2 separate regions of the Homo sapiens genome follow, and region 1 is linked to region 2. The links are contacts of gene promoters, found by promoter capture Hi-C in human tissues and cell types (Jung and others, 2019). All regions are on one chromosome and are shown on one strand. Each heading gives the region's core, a stretch centred on a gene start or on the middle of the fragment in contact. The rest is flanking DNA. Distances are from core to core; before and after follow the strand shown. Region 1 overlaps IL1RAPL1 (interleukin 1 receptor accessory protein like 1). Region 2 holds the start of IL1RAPL1 (interleukin 1 receptor accessory protein like 1).

Region 1 (7,060 bases), core at 190-2,689, 1.3 Mb after region 2:
CTCAACTCAAGGGTAACAATGGCTGTACTTTCTGCCCTTCATCATCACCAGGAGTTTCTGAGTAGCCTTTTAGAGCAAATCAATTTCCTGGCAGGTGAGTAATTTCTACTGTATAGTCATCATTTTCCCGCATCATTTATCTAAGACCCATCTTCTCAACACTCAGGTGCAACATCACACCTTCCCAGGGGTGAGGTCATCAAGGGCATCTGGGTGTTAAATGTTTGATGTTAACAAGAGGGACACCCCCTCTTCTGGCTGGTGTCCACCGATTGTTCTAGACACCATGAACTTTTGTTTCATGCAGGTAGAAAACAGCCATCAAGAGCTAAAATTTGAGCCCTTACAAGAATCTTTTTACTACCCAGCACAATGTGGTAATAATATTCCCACTTCTCAGGCCCTTTTCCTTCAAGTGAATAAGATTTCCTCTCTATTCTAGAGGAGCCATGCTACTGCCTCTCTTCATTTGATTACTGTGGGAAATCCCCCAGCAGCTTATTCCAAGTTCACTGCGCAGCCCTCTGATTCCTGAAAGGCATAATTTGGCCTAACTTGATATATATACTATATATCATCACTTACAGTAATGTTTGTCCCATAATAGTAATACTACTACTAATAATAATAATAATTGCTAACAGTGAGTGAGCACTCACCATGGGTACTATAAATTTATATTAACTTAATTAACTCCAAGTTATTTGTTGTTACTTAAATTCTCTTATAATCTATTGATCAAACAATTGAGTTGCTTTGTTCCTAAAAGCTACAAAAATATATAGTAATGTAGTATAAAATCTATTTTCATAAAGAAATCTGACACTACAGCTGAATTATGGTTAGCAAATTTAAAATTCATACCTTGTTTTCCTCTTGTGATTTTGTCTCCTTGAAATTTGAGCAGATGTTGTTATATCTTTCAGCAATCACATCCTCAACTATGAGCTTAATATAACGTACCCCTTTCATTACTTTTCCTTTCTTTTAGAATTCTTAGATAAATCTCTGATTTCCAAAGAACTATCTGTGCTTTGATATTGGCAACTATTATCTGCTGTAGGTCCTAGTACTTATTTAGGTAAAAGATCTTAATGAAGTTCCAACGAACTTCATTTGTCTCCGTGTGTGTGTGTGTGTGTGTGTGTGAGAGAGAGAGAGAGAGAGAGACAAAGAAATTCTTCTCTTTTTTCATTTCTGAATAAAGCTTTCTAGAAGAGCCATTCAGTGTAACTAATGACAAAAGATAAATATGTTTTGTAAACCACTTTGCTTTTATCTTAAATGGGGAGTCTTCGGCAAAACATTTATCTTTACCATGACCGTAGAGTAATTTTAATATACATGATTAATGGTGCAAATGAAATTAAAATCCCCCTACTATTCAACATCTTAGTTAAGAACAAAATGCTCACTGTTTCCTAATTGCAAAGAGTAAAATGTCTGGATGTTGATGCTTTTTAATTAGAGGAGAATTTTCTTTTTAATTAAAAAAAGAGAGCTTTTTTATTTTTCAGTAAGTTAGAGAGTGTCCTCTAGTGGAGAGAGACTCTGATCTCATAGTTTTAGAAATGGCTATATGATACCCAGTTAGAACTGTGCTCCACTTAGCTGATTGGAATCTACTGGTTGAAGGGAAAAAGTATTGTTTTTCCTCTAAGACCCCTCAAATCATGGCCTAGTTAAAAGGCTGCAGTGTGACAAGCATTGTTCTCATTTTAGATAGGAATGATTTTTTATGATCAATTTTAGCATGCTTCCTTCTGAACCTGTTGAGGTTGAGCTGACTGTGCACCTTTCTGCCAAAAAGGAGGCAGAAGCATTTAGTGCAATTTACTGTGGCTTTTACAGGTATCAACTGGAGGCAGCAAGAATACCATTGTCTTCAGGACTGCAGACCTGGCTGACTGATATATTTGATGTGTGCAGATCCCTAGGCCATAGCTTAAATTTGTTTCTTTTATTATTTGAAGGAAAACAAAGAAACAAAATTGAGAGACAAATTAAATAAAGGTCTCTCTTCTCCTTAACTTGTCGAATTCTAATGCTAATTTCCTGTATTTCTGGTTAAATGTGCTAAGCAGTCTTAGCTCTATCACTTGTGTATCAGAGATGAGAGGTGGAGGAGTTTTTTCGATATCTAAATGGAAGAGGGTACGGAAGAGCTGTGGTGGTTGGCTCTCTGAATCACATACTAGAATTGCCTTATCAGAAATTGCTTATTACAGCAAATTAGAGACTGAAAGAAAAGAACGATAGTTGCTCTTGATAACAAGCTAAATAGCTTGGACTTAAATAAAGATAAAAATTTTATTGCTGATTCTTTTTTTAATTTTAATTTTTTAAGTTCTGGGATACATGTGCAGAATGTGCAGGTTTGTTACATAGGTATACATGTGCCATGGTGGTTTGCTGCACCCATCAACCCGTCATCTAGGTTTTAAGCCCCGCATGCATTAGGTATTTATCCTAATGCTCTCCCTCCCTTTGCCCCCAACCCCGACAGGCCCCAGTGTGTGATGTTCCCCTCCCTATTCCATGTGTTCTCATTTTTCAGCTCACACTTATCAGTGAGAACATGCAGTGTTTGGTTTTCTGTTCCTGTGTTAGTTTGCTGAGGATGATGGCTTCCAGCTTCATCCATGTCCCTGCAAAGGACATGATCTCATTCCTTTTTTATGGCTGCATAGTATTCCATGGTGTATCTGTGCCACATTTTCTTTTTCCAGTCTATCATTGATGGGCATTTGGGTTGCTTCCAAGTCTTTGCTATTGTAAATAGTGCTGCAATACACATACGTGTGCATGCATCTTTATAGTAGAATGATTTATAATCCTTTGGGTGTATACCCAGTAATGGGATTGCTGGGTCAAGCGGTATTTCTGGTTCTAGATCCTTGAGGAATCGCCACACTGTCTTCCACAATGGTTGAACTAATTTACACTCCCACCAACAGAGTGAAAGCATTCCTATTTCTCCACAGCCTAGCCAGCATCTATTGTTTCCTGACTACTTAATAATCGCCATTCTGAATGGTGTGAGATGGTATCTCATTGTGGTTTTGATTTGCATTTCTCTAATGATCAGTGATAATGAGCTTTTTTCATATGTTTGTTGACTGCATAAATGTCTTCTTTTGAGAAGTGTCTGTTCATATCCTTTGCCCACTTTTTGATGGGGTTTTTTTTTTCTTGTAAATTTGTTTAAGTTCCTTGTAGATTCTGGATATTAGACCTTTGTCAGATGGGTAGATTGAACTTTCTCCCATTCTGTAGGTTGCCTGTTCACTCTAATACTAGTTTCTTTTGTTGTGCAGAAGCTCTTTAGTTTAATTAGATCCCATTTGTCAATTTTGGCTTTTTTTGCAATTGCTTTGGTGTTTTAGTCATGAAGTCTTTGCCCATGCCTATGTCCTGAATGGTATTGCCTAGGTTTTCTTTTAGGGTTTTTATGGTTTTAGGTCTAACATTTAAGTCTTTCTTTAATCCGTCTTGAGTTGATTTTTGTATAAAGGTGTAAGGAAGGGGTCCAGATTCAGTTTTCTGCATATGGCTAGCCAGTTTTCCTAGCACCATTTATTGAACAGGGAATCCTTTCCCCATTGCTTGTTGCTGATTCTTATATTTGAAAAAAAGGGGGATAAGGAGAGTGTTCATAAAATCCTTCAGTAATCCAACAAATGTCAGAGCCATAATGAACAATAAGGCAAATATATTCCCTTTTATAGATAATTTTCAGAAACATGTATAGTCGTGACTCCCACACAGATGGAAGAATGAATACATGTTAAAAAATTTTTTGCTGATGTGATATGAGGGGACCAAGCAGATGTTATGACCAGTTCAAAGGAAATATCAAAGCAGCAGATTTACACAGATTAAAGAAATGTTGAGATGAATTGTAAATGGAGACAAAATTGTTTTTTTCCCCAGGTTATAGGGGGGATAGGAGAGGTGAGTCAATTAAATCACTATCAGACAGGAGAGAATTTGTACCCCTATCAGTGTCCTACATTTTACAGAGTCAAAATATAGTTCAAAGACAGTAAAAAAGCCTTTGGGAGGCCGAGGCAGGTGGATCACGAGGTCAGGAGATCGAGACCATCCTGGCTAACACGGTGAAACCCCATCTCTACTAAAATACAAACAATCAGCCGGGCGTCGTGGCGGGCTCCTGTAGTCCCAGCTACTCGGGAGGCTGAGACAGGAGAATGGCGTGAACCCGGGAGGCGGAGCTTGCAGTGAGCCCAGATCGCGCCACTGCACTCCAGCCTGGGTGATAGAGCGAGACTCTGTCTCAAAAAAACAAACAAACAACAAAAAAAAAAACATAAAAAAGCAGGAATCCAATAATCTGGAAGGGTGTGCCATAGACCAATGAGTAGTTTTCCAATGAAAGATATTTCTTTCTACATAACTTTGTAAATATATATATATATATATATATATATATATATATATATATATATATATATATATATATATATTTCTGTAGCCTGGTTGGGTTGCCAGTGACCCAGTTTTATATCCTACTTTCTTGTCTACACCAGCTACTTCTCTACCTACAACTGCCATTATTGTGAACCCTCTTTCTCTTTCCTCTTCTCCAGCCTCCCTGTCCTTGCTTCCTGCTTACAGGACCTGCCCTAATATTTTTCAATTTTGTTGCTTTTCTGAGCCCCAGTTCCACTTTAAACAAATTCCAAGGTAAAAACAAATTGTTCTGGACAGTTAACTGTAATCACTTGCATGAAAAAATCACCTGAGGGTGCTTGTTAAAAATTCAAATCCCTGGAACTCTCCAGACTTGACTTGCTGAATCTAAATCTGGTGGGGGGTGGAGGTAAATTTTTTGACAATAAATTTGGAACTCACTGACTTAAGTAAAATAAGAAAAAAATGTAACATCTAAGCCATATGACTCTAAGCTAAATGACATTGTAGAATATATGGGAGTATAAAATAAAAACTGATATGAAAGTTAGTGGAAATATGCAAGAAAAAGCAAAGTTAATGGTAGCATTAGTAATTGCTAGTAATAACTTTCCCTAAAGTTCCTATCACAATCTATCTAGCACTAATTATTTTCAAGTTGAATATCTGGAATGTCAATCTATTAATTTTTTAATGTCCATTCTAGATGCTATGCTAAGTGAGTTTTAAAATTATTTTTCCTTTTTAATTGAAAGCATACCCAGACACACATTAAATAAACACAAAAAATAAAAATTCATAATCATTCTGTTTTTTCTTTGTATCACTTTCCATTCTACTGAATTTTACTAATTATAAATTTAAATCTTTTAATCTTGCACTTTTTTGTTATTTCTAGACTTCAATTTTAAGAAATTATTTTTCCTCCACATATTTATAAAATATATACTTTCTCCTATATAGTATATTTATTTCATAGTAATATTTAACTCTAATAAATCCCACATTTATTTTTCTATATTATATGAAACTAATTTTTGTTTTTAGAAAATAATGCAATTCTGATAACTCATTGCCTGGAGTTAAATCTGGTACCATATCTGAGCACTACAATTGATTTCAAAGAGTTGTACCACTGCCTGCGGGATAAACATGATGTTGTTTTTTTATAATTGTTTTAAAATACATTTTGCTCTTTGTTTAGACCAACAACGTAATGTCCAGATCTATCATCATTACACTTCTTTAGGATAGTTGTTGACAATATCTACCTACTTAAATTTCTAAATAAATATAGATTTTGTTGAGTTCTACATCTTATTGGACTTTTATTAGCATTAGCATTACATCTAAAATGTAACTTGGGAATGGATTTGTTTAATTGTTTATTGCTAGTATAAATAGGATCTCTTCTATTTTCTAATTAGTAACTGTAGAAATCATGGATGATAATGATTTCTAAATATCATAGACCATAACTAACTACAGAGTTTCTTCTTAAGGCTGGCAAAACTATGATAAAAATCAGTGTCTCTTAGAGAATAAGATTAAAAAAATTTAAATCACATTAACTATAGCTAAACTGTAAGTACATTAAATTTATTGCTACAAATCATGTAGTTTAAAAAAAACCCCTCAAATTTGCCAGATTTACAAACTTACCCCACTATGGAAAACTGGCTTTCTTCTGAATTGCCTTCATCAATTATTTATTGCTGCAGGGTTGCAATAGGCTGAGGTAGATGCTCTTATGGAGTATCTAATATTTCATATTAGGCAGATAGTGTTTCATTTTTAAATTTCAAGCCTTGTGCCTGTAATCACAGCTACTCAGGAGAGGGGAAGACCGCTTGAGCCCAGGAGTTCAAGACCAGGCTGGGTAACATAGCAAGACCCCATTTCAAAAATATATATATATATATATATAAGCAAACTTTTTTAATAATTTTAGAATCTATGCTCTTAAGACCCACATTCTCTCTTGGTTTTATTTTGCATATTCTCTTTTGAGTTTCTTAAGGGTATTTTTGTCTGGACCTAAAGTTCTATCCAAATATATTGAAAAAAATGGGTAGCCCCTCCTTTGAGAATTACCACATAGACTCCATTTGATCTATAGGATAGTGAGTCTTATTTTTACGTGATTATATTTTGTTTAAAATAACTCAAACTATAGAGAATTTTATATTTTGGAATACCAATACAAAAGAATGTTATATCAAAAGGACAAATTTTTAAATTTTGCTAGTAAGTGATTACAATATATGTCTTAGATTTGAATATTTAAAATAACTTTTTAAAAAGTCAAAATATAGGGCTTTTTAATTGGTTAAGTATGCAATCAGGTTATCTTCAAACAATGTTTTTATTGAAATTGGTTCAATATATGAAGCCTTTATTTGGCAATTTTCATCTTTATGCACTTTCCAAATGTTAGCTAGTTAATCTGCTTAACAATATTCCATTAAACAGTTGTACACATTTTATGTTCATACACTCCTATAAACTTTAACAATAATAATAATAATGATGCTTTTATCAGCTTTTTAAAACATCTCATTGCTTTGTTATATCCTATTGTATTAGTAAAACTTCTAAAACATTATCATATTAAAAGAATGCTGGC
Region 2 (7,135 bases), core at 3,926-6,425:
GTGTCCTGGATATCATGAAGTCTGATATAAATACATATAAAAAGTGCAAGTGGTCTATTTCAGCAGAACTCTATGCAGAGATCAGAAATTCACCAGGAAATAGGTCTTTGTAACTCCCAAGTTCTGGTTAGATTTTAATAAAATGTAAGCTTTAGGAGAGCAGGAAACTGAACTAGATATATCCATAATGATACCCTCAGTACTTTGAACCATGCCTGGCACATAGTGGGTTTCCAGGGCACATTTCCTGAATCAATTACAATTTTAATATTTCACCCACCTGAAATATTGTTCTGCGGTTTTATTTAAACTGGCTGTCAGCATGGAATGACTTCTGCATTCTCTCCTGGAAGTGGGTGAATTTCCATGGTGAGCCATTCCTCTATATACAGTTTGCAAATCATTTTGGGAACCTTCCAAATGAAAGGCACTGTATAAATATACCCTCCCACCAGCAGCCAGCCGGCTTTCCACCGGGGATGCATTTGCATCGCTTATGTACACAGTGTTTCATTTGGGGCATTGCTTTTATTTTTATGACCATAAAAGAAATATTCACAGTATGAACAATAATGTAAACTGCATTCAAGAAGATATATATTTATATATTTTTATGATTCAAAACTTAGAAATCTGAAAGAAAAGCAGGCATGGCATTTTTCTTTCCTGTTGCTGTTTGCTTTTTCATAGCATTCTTTATTATTCCTGAACTTTATGGTGGAATTTTGCTGAAATGCTCAAGTCTTTGTCTGTACCTCATTTGAGAATATGTGGTGGTGGGTTCAAATGAATATTGCTGGCAAAAGGCCTGAAAATGAAGAGTACTTGATTTTGCATTTATTCAAGGCTATAATAATAGTTTGCTTTAGCGCAGCTTTTTGTGGATGGAGGCTTCTTTAAGGAGAGAAAGAGAAAAAGAAGCAACCTCAGGTATAAAATACCTTCTAAGTAACTTAGCATGATAATCGAAACTTTCACAGATGGAAGAGGCTTTGAAGAGACGTATTTTAGCCTTCAAAACAAAAGGGGGGCTGATTTCATAGAGCATTGTGGGGAGCTAGACTTTGAATTCATATCATATGGAAAATGTTTAGTGAACTTTGAAATAAACTGCCAACAGAATTAAATCAAAACCTCTGTAAATTATGTATTTATCTACATAGAATCATCTGCACACAAAAATGAACTGAATTATAACTTCTTAATTTATACATTTCCATAATTAAATTTAAACTGAATAAAATAACCCAATTCAGACATATTTCCTAACCTTAAGGATATTCTAGCCTTAAGGATTTTATTAAAAAGAGAAGCTACTCTGAATATTCAGAGTAATTTTATATAAAAAGTATCTAAAAAGGTAGATTAAATAAAACTCTTGTTCACTTCACTGAGTGGCTGGCAGCTGAGTAGGCTCTCTTTCTCTCTTTAAAGAAGCCTCCATCCACAAAAAGCTGCGCTAAAGCAAACTATTATTATAGCCTTCAATGACGTGAAATGTGAAGAATTAAATTTCAACTACCAATAGTTAAAGACAGAATCAATAAGAACTTGAGTTCATTTCAGGTGTTGATCATTCTCTTTCGTAAATACCAAATTTGATATTTTCTCACGTTTTACTACTAAAACAATGAAAGTGATTTTTGAAACCTTAACTATAGGATAGTAATATTAGGAAATAGCTCACTCAGTTTATTTTGGGGTTTGTAAAGTGGGGTTATATTCTCCATCTCCCAAGTCAGAATATTTCTGTAGCTAACCTTTAATTTCATACTCCCATTAATACCAACCTTGTTTCATTAAAATGAATCTAATGTACAGTATCTTGACATTCTTCTTTATTACTAGAAAATAAAACAGCAGTTTCTTCAACTGAGAAAAGCTAGAAGCATGGAATTGATCTGCAGCCAGTTTTTACTACAAACCCCATAATGCTTTGCATTATAGCCTACAATCCCCATACTGCAGTGCCAAACCTACAGTTAACCATCATATTACTGGAAAGAAAAAGAACAGAATATTTGAGAACTATGTAGCATGCAAGGATTCTACTTGAATAGTAAATTATCAATTTGTTTCCAGTATTTTGTGATTTGCTTGCCTTTTCCTTTAGTAAAAAAGGCATATTTATGGATATGCACTCTATTTCCTCATCCTCAATATAATGTCGCATATTCTCAAATGATATATCAAGGTATATACTTTCCATGTCAAAGACTCTTTTTTAAAAATATCCATCATTGGGTTGTGTAGTTTTCCACCCTCCTTTGGAGGGAGGTCAGCTTTATTCAGATTTTAAAATAAAAATCACAATACATTGTTGAATGCTCTAAACATCTGCAAATGAGAATTCAGTGAAGTAATTAAAATTCTTAATTAGATGCACCTTGCAGCTGCCGTTAGTCTTAATTGGCAATAATGCAGCTACATTTTGTTCTGACACATATCTTCAGAAGAGTTAGAGAACTGAAGGGAGGCAAGAGGAAAATGTTCCCACACAGTTCAAGATAGTTCGCACAAAGAGGATCCCATGGCAACAAACAGCGAGGCCCACAGTTGGCTCTGTAGGATCCAGGAATAGACAATGCTTCACCTCAGATTCAAACAAACACTTCCTTTCCTGGATCTGATCATTTCATTTGAAATGAAAGCACTTTAAATCATCTCTTGAAATAGGATTGAAGTGGTCAAATGTTCACCTGTGTCCTCGAGATGCTTTTCAAAGCTTCTAGATGCTCTCTGCAGCCCATGTCAAGGTAATAATCATAACTCCTTCTCTGTGTACAGTAACAAACTGACTTGCAGAACATTTCAAAGAGAGGACGTGATTTTTGTACCATATGGAGCTGGACAGCACGTTGGCAACTGGTTAATTTCAACCTGTCATTTTATAGACAAGGAAACTGAGGCCAAGAGAAATTAAAGTGATTCCCTTGGGTAATTATGGCTACTTAGGAGTAGAATTTAGACTCAAATCTAGGATTGGAGCCTACGGTCAAGACGTTTACTTTTAAATTTTGCTTGAAGCAATTACATTTACACTTGTTACTTGTGCCCCCCTCCAGGTCTGCTTGAGGTCTATTCACATTCAACTGGGTCAACTAGAGGACTGTGATGGAAGGTATAGAAAATCTAGATCACTCACGTTGAAAGGAGGGGAATATATTTCCTCTTCACTTCTAATCTTCAGTTTAGGCTGAATTATAGCATGTGGGGAAGAAGCAGAGGGAAGAAAAACACTGGCACAGAAGATGTGAACATGGGTGAGTTAGCTTCAAAGAAACCTTGTAAGACTTGCCTACCGACTTTAACCACATTTTCCCTCTGCTTAGGTTGGAAATTTCAGTGTACTGCTCCTTTTTTCGAAATACAGTTTTACCTCCCTGTCTAGTCTCCCTGCCTGCTGTTATTCTCACCTGCGCGCTTAGTTTGTATTCGTTTAGCTCACATTTTACCTAATTTTTAAAGTGTTTTCTTTATCTTGATGCGTGTTTTACTCCCCAAATTAAAACAGTTCTGAAGGGCCAAGGCTACTTTACCTATTTATTCTATTTTTGGTTTATCCGGTTAAGCCTGCCATTACAAAAGCTTGTGGGATACATTACAAAATGGGTTAAGGTTTTTAAGTACATGGGCTGCCGGTGTTGAATGGGAAAGGTTGCAGGGTGGGGAGAGGGAGAGAAGTAACTAGAAAAGCGGCTCGCTGCCTTTTAATCATCCAGCCTACTCAGCTGCCGGAAACTGACACTGTTGCTGCAGTGTAAACATTAACATTTTTTAAGGGTCTTGCTACTCCAAATGTGGTCCACAGCCCAGCAACATTATTATGGGCCACGGGCGAGCTTATTAGAAACGCAGGGTCTCAGGCCTCACTCCAGATGTACCGAATCCGAATCTGCATTTTAACAAGACACCCAGGTGACGGTGTGTACATCAAAGTTTGAGAATCACGGAATCACATGTGAGTGTTATACTATCCCAATGTAAATGGTCAAGGACCTTAAATTGAGCAAATAACCTAATGTATTTACCCGTACCTACTTTGACCCTCTTTCTTCATCACAAATTCATCTCAGAAACCAGCAGCGAACTCTTTTGCAGGGAACTCAATTACGCGGTGGATGGGAGGAGGATCCTCTTCAATACCCTCCCCTCCGCTCCTCCTCCCACTCCCCACCCCCACCCCGCACTCCCAGAGAGCCTTCCACAGGCACCCTTCTCCCAAGCCCCACTCACTTAGGGAAGATTTTGCTCCTCCCCCAAACTGAAAGCGCGGCTGTGAGGAGGGTTACTGCTTGAAGGACTCACAGTTTGCATATCAATACAGACAGAGGCACTTTTGCAAAACTGCCCTTTAGAAACAATTATCATCTTAGCACCTGAGGTTTGTTTGGAGCAGCCCCCGCACCCCTTCTCTCTTGTAATCCATCTTAAAGTGATACGGAGAATGGGGGCGTTGGGGAGACAGTGATGGGGGTGGGAGGGTCGCGCGCAATAATAAATCTGCTTCAAAGAGAAGAGATGAAAAGGAGGTTATCAAGAGTGTGTCGGCTTAGGCATCACTCTCTGTATCTTTCTGCTTCCTAGAGAAATGGAACCATAATTCTAAGGTGGCTAAGGCAAGACTGTATAAGCATCCAAATTTGCCAGTCTGCTTTTGCCTGGAAGAACAGATTTCCGTTATTTGAAGCCTCCCAGGGTCCTTTCCAAAAGATTCCCAGGCTACCTTCCTTCCACTTCGGTCTTCTGAGAACTCAAACTCGCAAAGCGGTGGCTGTCTGTGGATTGGCTAGTACTAAAATATCCATTGGGTGGCAGTAATACTATCCTCTTTATGACTTGCAGCAAACCAGAGAATGCATTCAATCAAATGAACCGATCTTGTAGAAACACTGGAATCATTTATGCGTTGCAGTTTCTCTTTCTTGTTTTCGCTCCTTCTTCCCTGGGATATTTTGAGTGGATTGTGGCTATTAATCAAGATCTCGTGCTATTCGTGTTTTGCTTGTGGTTTTCGCTCAGGATTAGCATCATTCAAGGCAAACGCAAAGCTGCTTTTCCCACCCCCCCCCCCGACTCTTTTTTGAAAAATCATTTTTGGGGGCTGCTGAGGAGAGCTAGGACCCAGGAGACACCTTCCCAAACAGCAGGGGTTGTGTGCTTTCACATAGCAGTACTGTACAAGGAAAACCCCGTCGGATCTGTTATTGCGGGATACTTGTGAAATATACATAGGATTCTTTCTTATGGCTGCATCCCGGATCTGGAAATTTTACTTGGGGACCAGGAGGATTTGAAAGGCTGCATGTACTCAGAAGATTTGCAAGCAACACTCCAATTCTTGTCATAGAGCTCGCAGACTTCTCACTTATCGGCTTTTTTCCTTCCTTATTTTTTAAGAATTATTCTTATTTTCCCCTCTCTTTTTCTGCTCTCTCCTCTCTCAGTCTCTCCTTTTCTATCTGCCTCTTCATTTTTCTCCTAGTCTGTTTTTTTTTTTCCTGCTCTGCACCTGGATTGTATCTTCAGCAAACAATCGGGCACTTTGAGAACTAACTGGAGACAGTCTTGTAGGGAAGATCTGTATGGAATTATCTGCTTTTATGGTGAACTTGGCATTTGTGAATGGGAATCTTGTTCACAATATTAATTGCTAGCAAAAACAAGAAAAAGAACACAGGAGTAAAACGTGGATTTTTCTGAATACGCATTGTGATGACCAGCAATTACCTTACCGACTAATATCCAGAGGAGAATAATTTGGAAGACTGTTGTGGGTAAGGTCATTTTATATATGCAAACCCATCAGTGGCATGAGCAAACTTGGGCATTTGTAATGGGAATGGGTGACTTGAATGATTGCTGCATCGCATTGATGGCTGTGATGTGGCCGTTATTGGCACTGAATGGAATAACTGCAGTTGGGTGTGTTGATATGTGTGTGTGTGTGTGTGTGTGTGTGTGTGTGTGTGTGTGTATGTGTGTGTGCGTGTGTGTGTATATGTATGTGTGCCCGTATTCTGAGTGCAATTGAAAATCAAAGTATCACTCTCTCCCCCAATTATTTTGATATGGAAGAGTGTCTTGAATTAATTCTGGGTAGACACTCTTTGTTTGAATGTAATATTTGTGGCCCCTGCGTTCTGGAAGGGGTAGCAGCAGTAAAAGAAACACTTAGTGAAGAGCCCCATTTAAAATGAAACGAGCTACTCTCTATGCATTAAAAGAAATATGTTTTCAACTCAGTGCAGCATTCTGCTGCATTTCACAGCCGCAATGGGACCAGGGACATCCCACTTGTCAAGTTCTTAAACTTTAAGGTGATAATCATCGTTAATTGTTCTCTAGGTTGTGGTTACTGGAGATTATTAAGCGCCCTGGGCTACTTTTTTATCTACTGGATTATCACTCAGAGTGAAAAAAGGAAAAGAAAAGAAAAAGCTAAAAATGATGGCTAACATAGAGAAGAATAAGGCAACATTATCTTAAATATCACCACAGTGCTTTCTTTCTCAAGTTCAATTGCCCAATAATATAATTATTTACCCAATATCCTAAATAGCTGAAGCTGAGACCCACGTGCAGGGGAGTCGAAGGTCTGAAAGCAGAGACCGTCCTTTTATTGCAATGCAGCCAGCTTGGGAAATGCAGGCAATTAATTACATACTTCCCCTAACCTTAAGTTGAAGATGTGTCCTGTCTGCTACATCTATTTTACCCTTTCGGTAAAAAGTTAGAGACTAGAACACTAAGGATGTTTAAGCATATTCTGCCTGGGAAATGGGATAAAGAAATCAATATTGATGACGTGGTTCAGTGCACTGTACTGCAATGCTAAAGTTCCATATTCAGTGCCTGTGATGAGAGAGTGGAGCATTTACATATGTTATAAATCTCACCTGGTAGATTGATCCAAAGGGGAGGGGAGAAGATATGTGGATATGTAGGAAGATGGATGGAAGTCGTGCATAATCGGTGATTATGTAACTTCATTACATCAGCGAGTTTCAGTCAACGATAGTGAGATGAGATGATTGTATAGAGAGAGGCTCCATCACCCTGTTAACTTTTGAAGGCTTGTAACAGCTAACAGAGGAGGAGGGCAGAGAGAGATTAGCTCCAAGGGTCCTGTAAA

Evidence for each region. Contacts are between HindIII fragments. The study calls those that stand out against the background at their distance.
Region 1: a fragment that was not itself captured here is called in contact with the fragment with the promoter of IL1RAPL1 in region 2 in 1 of the 25 tissues and cell types used here (hippocampus).

What each region holds. Positions count from the first base shown.
Region 1 is chrX:29,902,036-29,909,095 of GRCh38, forward strand. All of the region lies in intron 6 of IL1RAPL1 (interleukin 1 receptor accessory protein like 1), which reads left to right. Among named protein-coding and RNA genes, the nearest start is that of MAGEB2, 310 kb to the right of the region's middle. The HindIII fragment of the contact is 8,592 bases long and covers 1-5,735 here.
Region 2 is chrX:28,582,271-28,589,405 of GRCh38, forward strand. It overlaps IL1RAPL1 (interleukin 1 receptor accessory protein like 1), which reads left to right and starts at 5,176. Exons shown (of 11, transcript NM_014271.4): 1 at 5,176-5,777. The HindIII fragment of the contact is 4,831 bases long and covers 3,157-7,135 here.